Regions from separate parts of the Homo sapiens genome. Here all the other regions are linked to region 3. The links are contacts of gene promoters, found by promoter capture Hi-C in blood cells and fetal thymus (Javierre and others, 2016). All regions are on one chromosome and are shown on one strand. The core of a region is centred on a gene start or on the middle of the fragment in contact, and the rest is flanking DNA. Distances in the headings are between cores, read along the strand shown.

Region 1 (3,619 bases), core at 763-3,262, 370 kb after region 3:
TACACACACCATAACACTCCTAAAAGAGGAATGAGTTAAATGACAATGAATACATATTCATTGGGACTACAAACAATATTTGCACGTGGAACAGCAAATGGCTCCATTCTTTTAAATCTAGATGATGAGCTGGGTGCGGTGGTACATGCTTGTAATCCCAGCACTTTGGAGGGGCTGAGGTGGGCCGACCGATTGAGGCCAGGAGTTTGAGACCAGCCTGGGCAACACGGCAAAACTGTGTCTCTACAAAAAATAAAAAATTAGCTGGGCATGGTGGTGCACACCTGTAGTCCTAGCTACTCGGCAGACTGAGGTGGGAGGATCACTTGAGCCCAGGAGGTCGAGGTTGCAGTGAGCCAAGATTGCACCACTGCACTCCAGCTTGGGCGACAGAGCAAGACCTTGTCTCAAACGAACAAACAAAAAAACTAGATGACGAAAAGGCTTTGATAAATAATCATTAGATCCACCATTACAACTTTCTAAAACTGCCAAAGATATATACTGAATAAGACAGATTGATAATTCCTTAGGAAATTATGACGAATAAGTTCCAAAAATTCTAGTATCTTATTAGGAGTTACTCAAAATAAGTAAATAAGCAGTGCCAATACTCAATTGCTAATCAATATATGGAACATATGGTAACTCACTTAAATACCTGAGTAAATATGCCAGATAAAGGGGTCTGCTATCACTCTTGTAACAGCGGGTTAAATAAGCTTGTTGTTCTCATACTTCCATGGGAAAAAATTGAGCATATACCCCAAGATATTTGTTTATAAATTTTATACACATTCTACTACACTGATAGTGTATACATTTGTAAAATATAACTATTTTTAGTGATAGCAATATCAATGCACATGCTTCATTCTTTCGAATATCTTCTAAATGCATTCATTTTAATATCTGGTATTAAATATTGTTATACTTGAAAAAGTAAGAAGATCAAAATGGAAGACACATGATTGGCCATGCTTACTGAAATACGACACTAATTTTTCAACCTAATTCTCCAACTATGCAAAAGTTTTTGTGAAAATTCAGCCAGTAAATTTTAATCTTTAACATCAATACATTGTTTCTGTATTGAACTGTAGATCAGAAAGTTCTACAGTTTTTGGTACTTTCTACTTTATTATTATTATTACTATTATCATCATCATCATTTTGTTCTTGTTATTACCATGGGTGAGATAATTTTTTTTTGTATTTTTAACAAGTGAATTCACTAAAAAGACAAAATTTTACATCTGGTTTATAGCTATTACTTACATAGTTCCATTTAAATTCTCAAAGTAACCCTAGGTAAATGCTATTCTATCCATTTTGTAGATAAGAAAAGGGAGGCACAAGTGATTACTAACCAACCCCCAAATCACATCATTAGTCAAGTGTTAGAACTGGAATTGGATCCCATGTACTCGTGCTCTGGAATCTGGGCTGTTAGGCTATTTTTCTGTTAGAAAATTGCTCCCAAGCTGGGCAGATATGAGGATTTTCACATCTAACGTACAAACGCTCTTTAATAACAAATCATGCAATGATGTAAGTTTGTCAGAATACACTCTTCATTGCATGAGTTTCTTTCAAAAATTGGCTATTTTCTGACATCTTGTTAAGTAAGCTTTCCTTAAGCGTGAAGGGGCAGATTCAGTATAAATTCTTTGTAAAAGTATCTGGTAAGCAGACAACCATTTATCTTTATAAAAAAGATAAACAGACTTGGAACACTTCATTTTTCATAAAAGAAAAATAGGCCAGTCAAGGTGGCTCATGCCTGTAATCCCGAAATATTGGGAGGCTGAGGTGGGAGGATTGTTTGAGGCCAGGAGTTCGAGACCAGCCTGGGTGACTAAGCAATTCTGTCTCTCTCTCAAAAAAAAAAAAAAAAAAAAAAAAGAAGGAAGGAAGGAAGCAAAGGAAACAGAGAGAGAAAGAGGGAGAAAGGAGAAAAAATGTATGACTCGCTTTTAAAAGTTGTTCAGCTTTATCAAAGTATTTTGCTATAATAGAGTCAATGAATCCTCTTGTAAAATCTTTGCATCATAAAAGATGATTATCACCTTCACCCTTACTGTAATTTGAAGGTCTTCCAATTTGCCATCTGGCATTAATCTCTTTTGTCATCATAGTTTTCTAGAAATAATGTAGTAAATAAATTTCACACATGGTGGTATCTCTCCCTAACTCTCCATTTATTTTTTTAATTCCAGTCAAAGCCGTCCATCAGTGGTTTTTGTTTAGTTTTTCCACAAACATTCAAAAAAGTTAAATAAGTGATTTACAGTTGAGAATATATCTTTGTGGATATCTCTTTAATTGCTCACAAAAGTGGTTCTTCATGTGTTTCATTACTGAAATAGAATCTAGCAAGTACTCCCAAGCTTTAATGTTAGAAACATCTGTACATTATCCCTACCAGGCTGGGAAATTTGCTCTGGTACTAATTTATTTAATATCATTAGCAACATTTTTATGCTGCATCAAACAGTATATGCTAATGAATGAATGCATTTTGATTGGCTGTAATATTGTTTTTTGCTAATTACCATGGCAGAGGAACAAGTGTTTCCCCATAGTATTTCTTTCTCTATTTAAATAAGAAACCCTCAAGAAATGCATCCAGTCATTTATAATTAAATTCAGTAAAATTTTGTCATATAGAATAATGCATAAATAAATACCTCCAAAAAAACTAGAAATGCCAGTTTTTACATTCTGAATGCTTAGATATCTTGCTAAATTAGAATAGTTTCAGAATACCATTAGCTAAAATTTCAAGGCACAGTATAATTAGGCAAAGTTTTTATTTTAAATACCAAAAGTATAAACATATTGTTATTTCAAAACCCCTTCTTGATGATTTCACTATCTGGATCAATTTATATAACATCTGATTAAATCATCATAACTTCATGGTGATGTAGCTGATAGAGTTCTTACTAGAAATAATAGTGTCCACTTCCTTTTTCTTTTCTTTCTTTCTTTCTTTTTTTTTTTTTTGAGATGGAGTCTCGCTCTGTCGCCCAGGCTAGAGTGCAGTGGCATGATCTCAGCTCACTGCAACCTCCGCCTCCCAGGTTCAAGGAATTCTCCTGCCTCAGCCTCCCGAGTAACTGGGACTACAGGCACCTGCCACCATGCCCGGCTAATTTTTTATTTTTAGTAGAGACGGGGTTTCACCATCTTGGCCAGGCTGGTCTCGAACTTTTGACCTTGTGATCCACCTGCCTCGGCCTCCCAACGTGCTGGGATTACAGGCATGAGCCACTGCGCCCGGCCTTTTTTTTTTTTTTTTTTTTTTTTTTTTTTTGAGACAGGCTTTTACTGTTGCCCAGGCTGGAGTGCAGTGGTGTGATCAAGGCTCACTGCAGCCTTGACCTCCTGGGCTCAAGTGATCCTCCTACCTCAGCTTCCCACGTAGCTGGGACTATAGGCATGCGTCATCATGCCTGGCTAATTTTTGTATTTTTTTTTTTTTTTTTTTTTGAGATAGAGTCTCACTCTGTCGCCCAGGCTGGAGTGCAATGGCACAATCTCAGCTCACTGCAACATCCACCTCCTGGGTTCAAGCAATACTCCTGTCTCAGCCTCCTGAGTAGCTGGGACTACG
Region 2 (3,137 bases), core at 597-3,096, 470 kb after region 3:
AACTCCTGAGCTTACAGGTGTGTGTGAGCCACCACACCTGGCCACCCAAGCCCCTTAAAACTTGATTTTATAATTAATGTGTGCTACTTTTGTACCCTGGTCATTTTACCTATTATATTTAAAATAAGCCATGCAATTAGCTGAGTGGAAATGAACACATATTGTTCTTTTAAAAAATAAAAATAACTAGGTGTGGTGGCATGTGCCTGTAGTCCCAGCTATTCAGGAGGCTGAAATGGGAGGATCTCTTGAGCCTGAAGGGTCCTGGCTGCAGTGAGCCGAGATCACACCACTGTACCCCAGCCTGGGTGACAGAGTGAGACCCTGTCTCAGAAGAAGAGAGAAATATTTAATAAATATCCACACTGAATATTAAATACCATCTTATGTAGATGATCATATAATTTTCTCCTTTATTTTATTCATATGGTAAAATCACATTGATTGATTTTTAAGTATAAATTAGCCTTTTGCTCCACTTTTGTTTTTTTAAAAATATATTTTTAAATTAAATTTTATTTTATTTTAGTTTTTGAGACAGGGTATCGCTTTGTTGCCCAGGCTGGAGTGCAGTGGTGCGATCTCGGCTCACTGCAGCCTCTGCCTCCCAGGCTCAAACCATCCTCCCACCTTAGTGTCCTGAGTAGCTGGGACTACAGGCACGTACCACCATGCCTGGCTGATTTTTGTATTATTTGTAGAGACAGAGTATCGCTATTTTGCCCAGGCTAGTCTTGAAGTCCTGGGCTCAAGTGATCCACCCACCTCAGCCTCCCAAATTATTGGGATTACAGGCGTCAGCCACCTTGCCTGGCCAGTCTTGTGTTCTTGGAATAAGCCCAGTCTCGATGGGATATATAGCATATAGCCATATTTGATTGGCTCATATTTTGTTTCAGATTTTTGCATCTATGTTCATAAGAGAGAATGGCCTACAATTTTTCTTTTTTGCAGTATCATTATCTAGTTTTGCTATCATGGTCAAGAAGACCCAATAAAATGCAATTGGATCATAAATGCCGCAGATCCCCTTGCCCTTTGGGTGGGATAACTCTGAGGAAAAAGGTCTCCTTGATTTCCCCAGTGGACTCAAGCTCCAGTTACTCACAGTGGCAGTTTGTTTAAGAACCAGCTTTTTTTGGCTGTCTTATCTTTCTTGTTTCTCTTCCTCACTTCCCTAATAATGCTTCCTGACATCACCTCCTTATGTTCAAATCCTTCCCTGGGGATCTGCTTCAGGGGGAACTCAAAGTCAGGATCTTGAGCTCTTAATTCCTGGCTATTTTTGTAGTTTTCTGATGCTTTTAAACAAATGACTTTTGTATTTTATCCAACTTTTCTAGTTGTTCCTGGTAGAAGAGTTGGTTGGGTGTAATCTAGTCTATCATGGCTGAAAGCAGAAATTTAAACGTATATCTAGCATAAAAAAAAGAAACACCATAGTATAATTTGGTAACTTTCCTAATAGTTGGATTCAGTCTTTAATATTTTATCAGTTCTGATGTAAAGTAACCCTGATAAAATAGCTAGTCCTACTCTTTATTTATTTATTTATTTTTTGATACAGGGTCTCGCTCTGTCACCCAGGCTGGAGTGCAATGGTACAATCTCGGCTCACTGCAACCTCTGCCTCCAGGGTTCAAGCCATCCTCCCATCTCAGCCTCCTGAGTAGCTGGGACTACAGGTGCATACCACCGTGCCTGGCTAATTTTTGTATTTTTTGTAGAGACGGAGTATTGCTATGTTGCCCAGACCGGTGTTGAACTCTTGAGCTCAGGTGGTCTGTCTGTGTTGACTTCCCAAAGCTCTGGGATTACAGGCATGAGCCACCACACGCAGCCTACCAGTCCTAATCTTTATAATTCACTTCAAAGTCTTATCTTGGAGTCAGGACTCTCCTGAAGAAGGAACACACTTTGGGACTTCAGGCCAGTTTTGGGCACCTCCACTTCTCCCAGCTGCCTGGATGCCTCATTTGCATGTGGCATTAGCCAAGCTAATAAAAGGTAAACCTAAGTGTATCCTCCTAGCCTCCTTACTGTCTTGGGAGGCTGCCACCTTCCCTGATTCCCCTGTATTCTCTTCAAAGCAGAAAGAGAGACTGCAGATGATCAACCCCACATTCACTCTGATGACAACAAAACCTCCTTTCTCCTGAACAAAAAGAATCCAATTTCTACATAACCTAAAAAGGGAAACATTTCTGTTCTCAGCCACTATTGCATCTTGAGTTTCTTATATATTGCTTCCATGTTCCTAAATTTAAATGATAGCATTTCGTTTGTTTGAGTTGTCCCTAAATAATACACAACTTTTATAAACAGCTTTACTTAAAAGGGACATACCACTTTTTACAGAATATTTTTCAAAAACAGCTTTGAAATCATAGTTAGCATTTAAAGAAGAATGTTGTCCTATTCTTTTTTCTTATCTGTTTTCCCTTCTGTTTCCTTCCAGAACAATCCATTTCAAAAGCCATTATTAGATGGGGTTGGGCAGGTCAGTGACAAAAGGTAGGGTATCAGTGTCTGAACAAGTTCAGGTGCGGAGGCATGCAGGGAGGAAGACCAGGGCGGGGTGTTGGAGCCATGCAGAGTGAGAAAGGCATGCACACGAGGGGCTGATGGGGGCCTGGCACGGGTGTCAGATACCAAGCAAGGTGGGATGCACATTCCTATGGTAGCCCAGCATGTGGCATCAGAGGCCAGGTGGGGTGAGGAGGGCTTTAGATGAGGGGAATCAGCAGCCTGGTGCTGGGTGTGGGAGTCCGAATAGGGTGAGAGGGGCCTGCCTAGGGGAGGGCAACCTGGCAGGGGGGTGTCAGGGCCTACAAGGTGGGATATTACATATAGTAGTGCTCCAATATGTCAAGATATGGAGGAGAGTAGGAGCAAAGTTTCTCACTGTCACAGAAGGAAGTGAAAATATGGAAAGGGAGAAAACTGATGAGCTCTCTACTGTTAGAGTTTGGAATTGGAGATATTACCGTGAGTTCATAGTTTTCAGTATACACAGATGGGTAGATATGGGAATCAATATAGATATGTGTGTGTGTGTGTGTGTACGTGTGTGTGTGTATGCGTGTGCATATGTATGCTCCCTAGCTTTGCTCCTTTTGAGGGCCTGAGTGTAGTAC
Region 3 (3,444 bases), core at 33-2,532:
AATGTTTGGATTACAGGCGTGAGTCACCGCATTCGGCCTGAATCAACTTTAATTGTGAAGAGACCTAAGTTACCTGGGCTCTGGTCCTAGCTCTGACAATAGGCCTAGATATGTAAAATGGACAATAAAAAGGTTACTATCTCATGGGACTTTTGTGAGTATTAAATAAATATATGTAAATGATTCCTGGTACAGCACGCGTTTTTTGGTGAGGCTTAATTAAGGAGGGGAAGAGGTTTCCCTCATATAGCTTATCCACTGGTCTGATTGATTAGGTGGGGATTTTCAGCGCCTAATATCTTCAGTGGTCTGTCTCTGGACATTTATACCAAGATCCAACGTTAACAGCAAAAATACTTTTAAAAAATTAGACCTGTTTATCGCGCTCTCAGTGCAAACTCGGCTCACAAGTTCACGCTAACACAGTCACAAAAGGCGAGTTTTGGGAAACTCGAGCAGGGCGCCACCGTTCTCCAGGGGACAGGTAACTTGGGTGACCGCAGGGGTGAGGACACAGCTGCTTCTACCAAGCGGAGAGTAAATGCGGGTGCTGCGGCGCATCGGAGTCACCCACAAGGCTCTCCAAGAGCCGCGCCTCAGGACAAAGATGAATTCAGCGGCATTGAGACCGTGGTCGCAGCCGCCGCAGCCTCTTCTCATCTACCCTCCCACCTCACCTTCAGTCGGCTTTTCGAACTCCCTCCGGGTTCTAAGCGCCTCGATTAGTTAGACCGCAGCTCGCAGCAGAACAGCAACACAACGCCGCGAAGCTTAAAGGCCCGCAGAGGGGGAAAAGAACACCCCCGCCGTCATTCTTTTTTTTCCTTCTTTGAGACAGAGTCTCACTCTGTCGCCCAGGCTGAGTGCAGTGGCGCGATCATGGCTCACTGCAGCCTCGACCTACCGAGCTCAAGCGACCTCTCCGCCTCAGCCTCCGGCGTAGCTGGGAGTAGCTAGGACTACTGGAGCGCGCCACCACGCCCGGCTAATTTCTTTTTTATTTCTTTTTTATTTTTTTGTAGAGACAGGGGTGGTCTATGTTGTCCAGGCTGGCCTTGAGCTGGACGCAACAGATCTTCCCGCCTCAACCTCCGAAAGTGCTGGGATTAAAGGTATGAGCAGCCGCGTACGGCCCCCGCAGCCATTCTAGCTAGCGGTACCAATAGCAACCGGCAGCTGCCCTCCGCTTTTGCTCCGCCCCTTCTGCTTGCGATCTGTTTCCGCTTCCGGTCCCGCAGTTCCGGCTCTGCCGTGAAGAGCTTTGCATTGTGGGAAGTCTTTCCTTTCTCGTTCCCCGGCCATCTTAGCGGCTGCTGTTGGTGAGTGGGCTCCTACCGACCGAGGTTTAGGCAGCGCGGGGAGCTTTGCGGGTTGCCATTTGTAACTCCGGATCCTAAAATTCCTGTCCTGTTCTCTGTCTCTTCTAGGTTGGGGGCCGTCCCGCTCCTAAGGCAGGAAGATGGTGGCCGCAAAGAAGACGGTGAGTGAGGCGGGCCAGGCCCGGAAGACGATTCACGTGGAGAGATGTCTTGGCCAGGGCGGGCAGATGTGAGCCCACGGGGGTGACAGCATGCCTGCTGGCATTTGGAGGGCCCCAGAAGGAATCCCAGTGGCCCTCTCAATGACTTGGGGTCCTCGACTTCGGAAGTTTAAGGGGCTCGGCTTCAAAAAGCTGGGTCCGGTTTTGAGGCGGTTGCAGGCGAGGCCCTTAGGTCCGTATTTAATGTTTGCTTTGTAGAAAAAGTCGCTGGAGTCGATCAACTCTAGGCTCCAACTCGTTATGAAAAGTGGGAAGTACGTCCTGGGGTACAAGCAGACTCTGAAGATGATCAGACAAGGCAAAGCGAAATTGGTCATTCTCGCTAACAACTGCCCAGCTTTGAGGTAATCGAAGAGACTGAACGGGCTTCGCCTACCGCGAATTCATCGTGAACGAATATACAGGAGTGTAAACTTGTAATCTGAGTACCATGAACTCGAACACTTGCAGGATAATTACGGTAGCGATTGTGGTGTTTGGCCCTTCATTCCCGTCTCCCCGACCCACCCCCAAATCGTGTGCTCCCCTTCTGTGAGCTTATTTTTGGAGGAGAAATGTGTGTGTGTGGCAGGAGTGAAAACAGAACATCGAGGTTTAATGGAAACACAGACACATTACTGTTTTTTCCATGTATTTTGTGTCCTGCTTTTTTGGTTCTTTTAGCTTTGAGGTGCTTTAATGATGCTTCATTGTGTGAACTTGTTTTAGTGTCAAAAAACTAGGTAAGAAAAGTTGAGGCTGGGCTATGGAGTTGCAGGCTATCATAGAATCACCTAGTTTAGCCCGCTAAATCAGTTCTGAGTCAAGATTTATGCTTGACTCACTGTTTTGAAATTGAACTTAGGGGGTGTTGTAAATAAGCCAAACAAACTTGGACCTTGCAGAGTATAAGCTATGTGAGCAAATTTTCTGTGGTGATGCATAAGCTGCTTACAGCATTTTATATAGGGTGTCTGTAGTTACCGTCAAAGCCTGGAGGGCCCTTTCTGTCTTGTCCCATGGGTTCGGCTTTTCCCTAACCATTCTTTGAAACTTTCTTTAAAGCCTGTCTTCTATAGTAGTGCTTCTGAAACATGACTGTGCAAAGGAGTCACATGGGTGATGTTAAAATGCAAGTTCTGATTTCATTGGATCTGGGATGGGGCCCGAGGTGCCATTTATTATTTTATTTTTTTTAAGACAGAGTTTTGCTCTTGTCACCCCGGCTGGAGTGCAATGGCACAATCTAAGCTCACTGCAACCTCTGCCTCCCAGGTTCAAGCAATTCTGCCTCACCCTCCCGAGTAGATGGGATTACAGGCACCTGCCACCATGCCTGGCTAATTTTTGTATTTTTAGTAGAGATGGGGTTTCGCCATGCTGGCCAGGCTGGTCTCGGACTCCTGACCTTAGGTGATCCACCCACCTCGGCCTCCCAAACTGCTGAGATTACAGGTGTGAGCTACCGTGCCCGGCTTGAGGTGTTTTTTTAACTAATACATTGTAGCACTATTGCTGGTATGTGGATTCACATAATTGAGTGGCAAGATAGTATAGGACTCCTTTCCGATTCCTAAAACCATTAGTATCTACTAATTTGACGCTGAAATTTTGTATTTTTAGTAGAGACAAGGTTTCACCATGTTGGCCAGGCTGGTCTGACGCTCCTGACTTCAAGTGATCCGGCCTCCCAAAGTGCTGGGATTACACGCGTGAGGCCAGAAATTTTAACTCTAAAACGGTATCACTTCCCATCTGGAATTCTGGGCACTGAGGGGATGGTGATAGAAATGGCTTATCTTTTAAAGGTTTAGATTCTGGATCCTCCACTTACTATTCTGTGGCTCAGTTTCATTAGATTAAAAAAAAAAAAAAAGAATAGGGCTGTGTGCCGTGGCTCACACCTGTAATCCCAGCACTTTGGG

What was found. The method cuts DNA at HindIII sites, captures the fragments that hold promoters and counts their contacts. A CHiCAGO score of 5 or more calls a contact.
Region 1: a contact is called between a fragment that was not itself captured here and the fragment with the promoter of RPL30 in region 3, in 3 of 17 cell types (fetal thymus, activated CD4 T cells and total CD4 T cells). The highest score is 6.7, in fetal thymus.
Region 2: a fragment that was not itself captured here is called in contact with the fragment with the promoter of RPL30 in region 3 in 3 of 17 cell types (fetal thymus, naive CD8 T cells and naive B cells); the score reaches 7.8 in fetal thymus.

Annotation. Positions count from the first base shown.
Region 1 is chr8:97,676,881-97,680,499 of GRCh38, reverse strand. The region is part of intron 2 of MTDH (metadherin); the gene reads right to left. Among named protein-coding and RNA genes, the nearest start is that of MTDH, 35 kb to the right of the region's middle. RefSeq lists a silencer at 1,802-2,002. The HindIII fragment of the contact is 760 bases long and covers 1,633-2,392 here.
Region 2 is chr8:97,578,702-97,581,838 of GRCh38, reverse strand. No RefSeq gene overlaps it. Among named protein-coding and RNA genes, the nearest start is that of MTDH, 64 kb to the left of the region's middle. The HindIII fragment of the contact is 4,555 bases long and covers 1-3,137 here.
Region 3 is chr8:98,043,383-98,046,826 of GRCh38, reverse strand. RPL30 (ribosomal protein L30) reads left to right here and starts at 1,282. Exons shown (of 5, transcript NM_000989.4): 1 at 1,282-1,319; 2 at 1,428-1,480; 3 at 1,739-1,884. The coding sequence starts at 1,460. RefSeq lists enhancers at 901-950, 971-1,030, 198-1,134, 1,201-1,350. The HindIII fragment of the contact is 12,210 bases long and covers 773-3,444 here.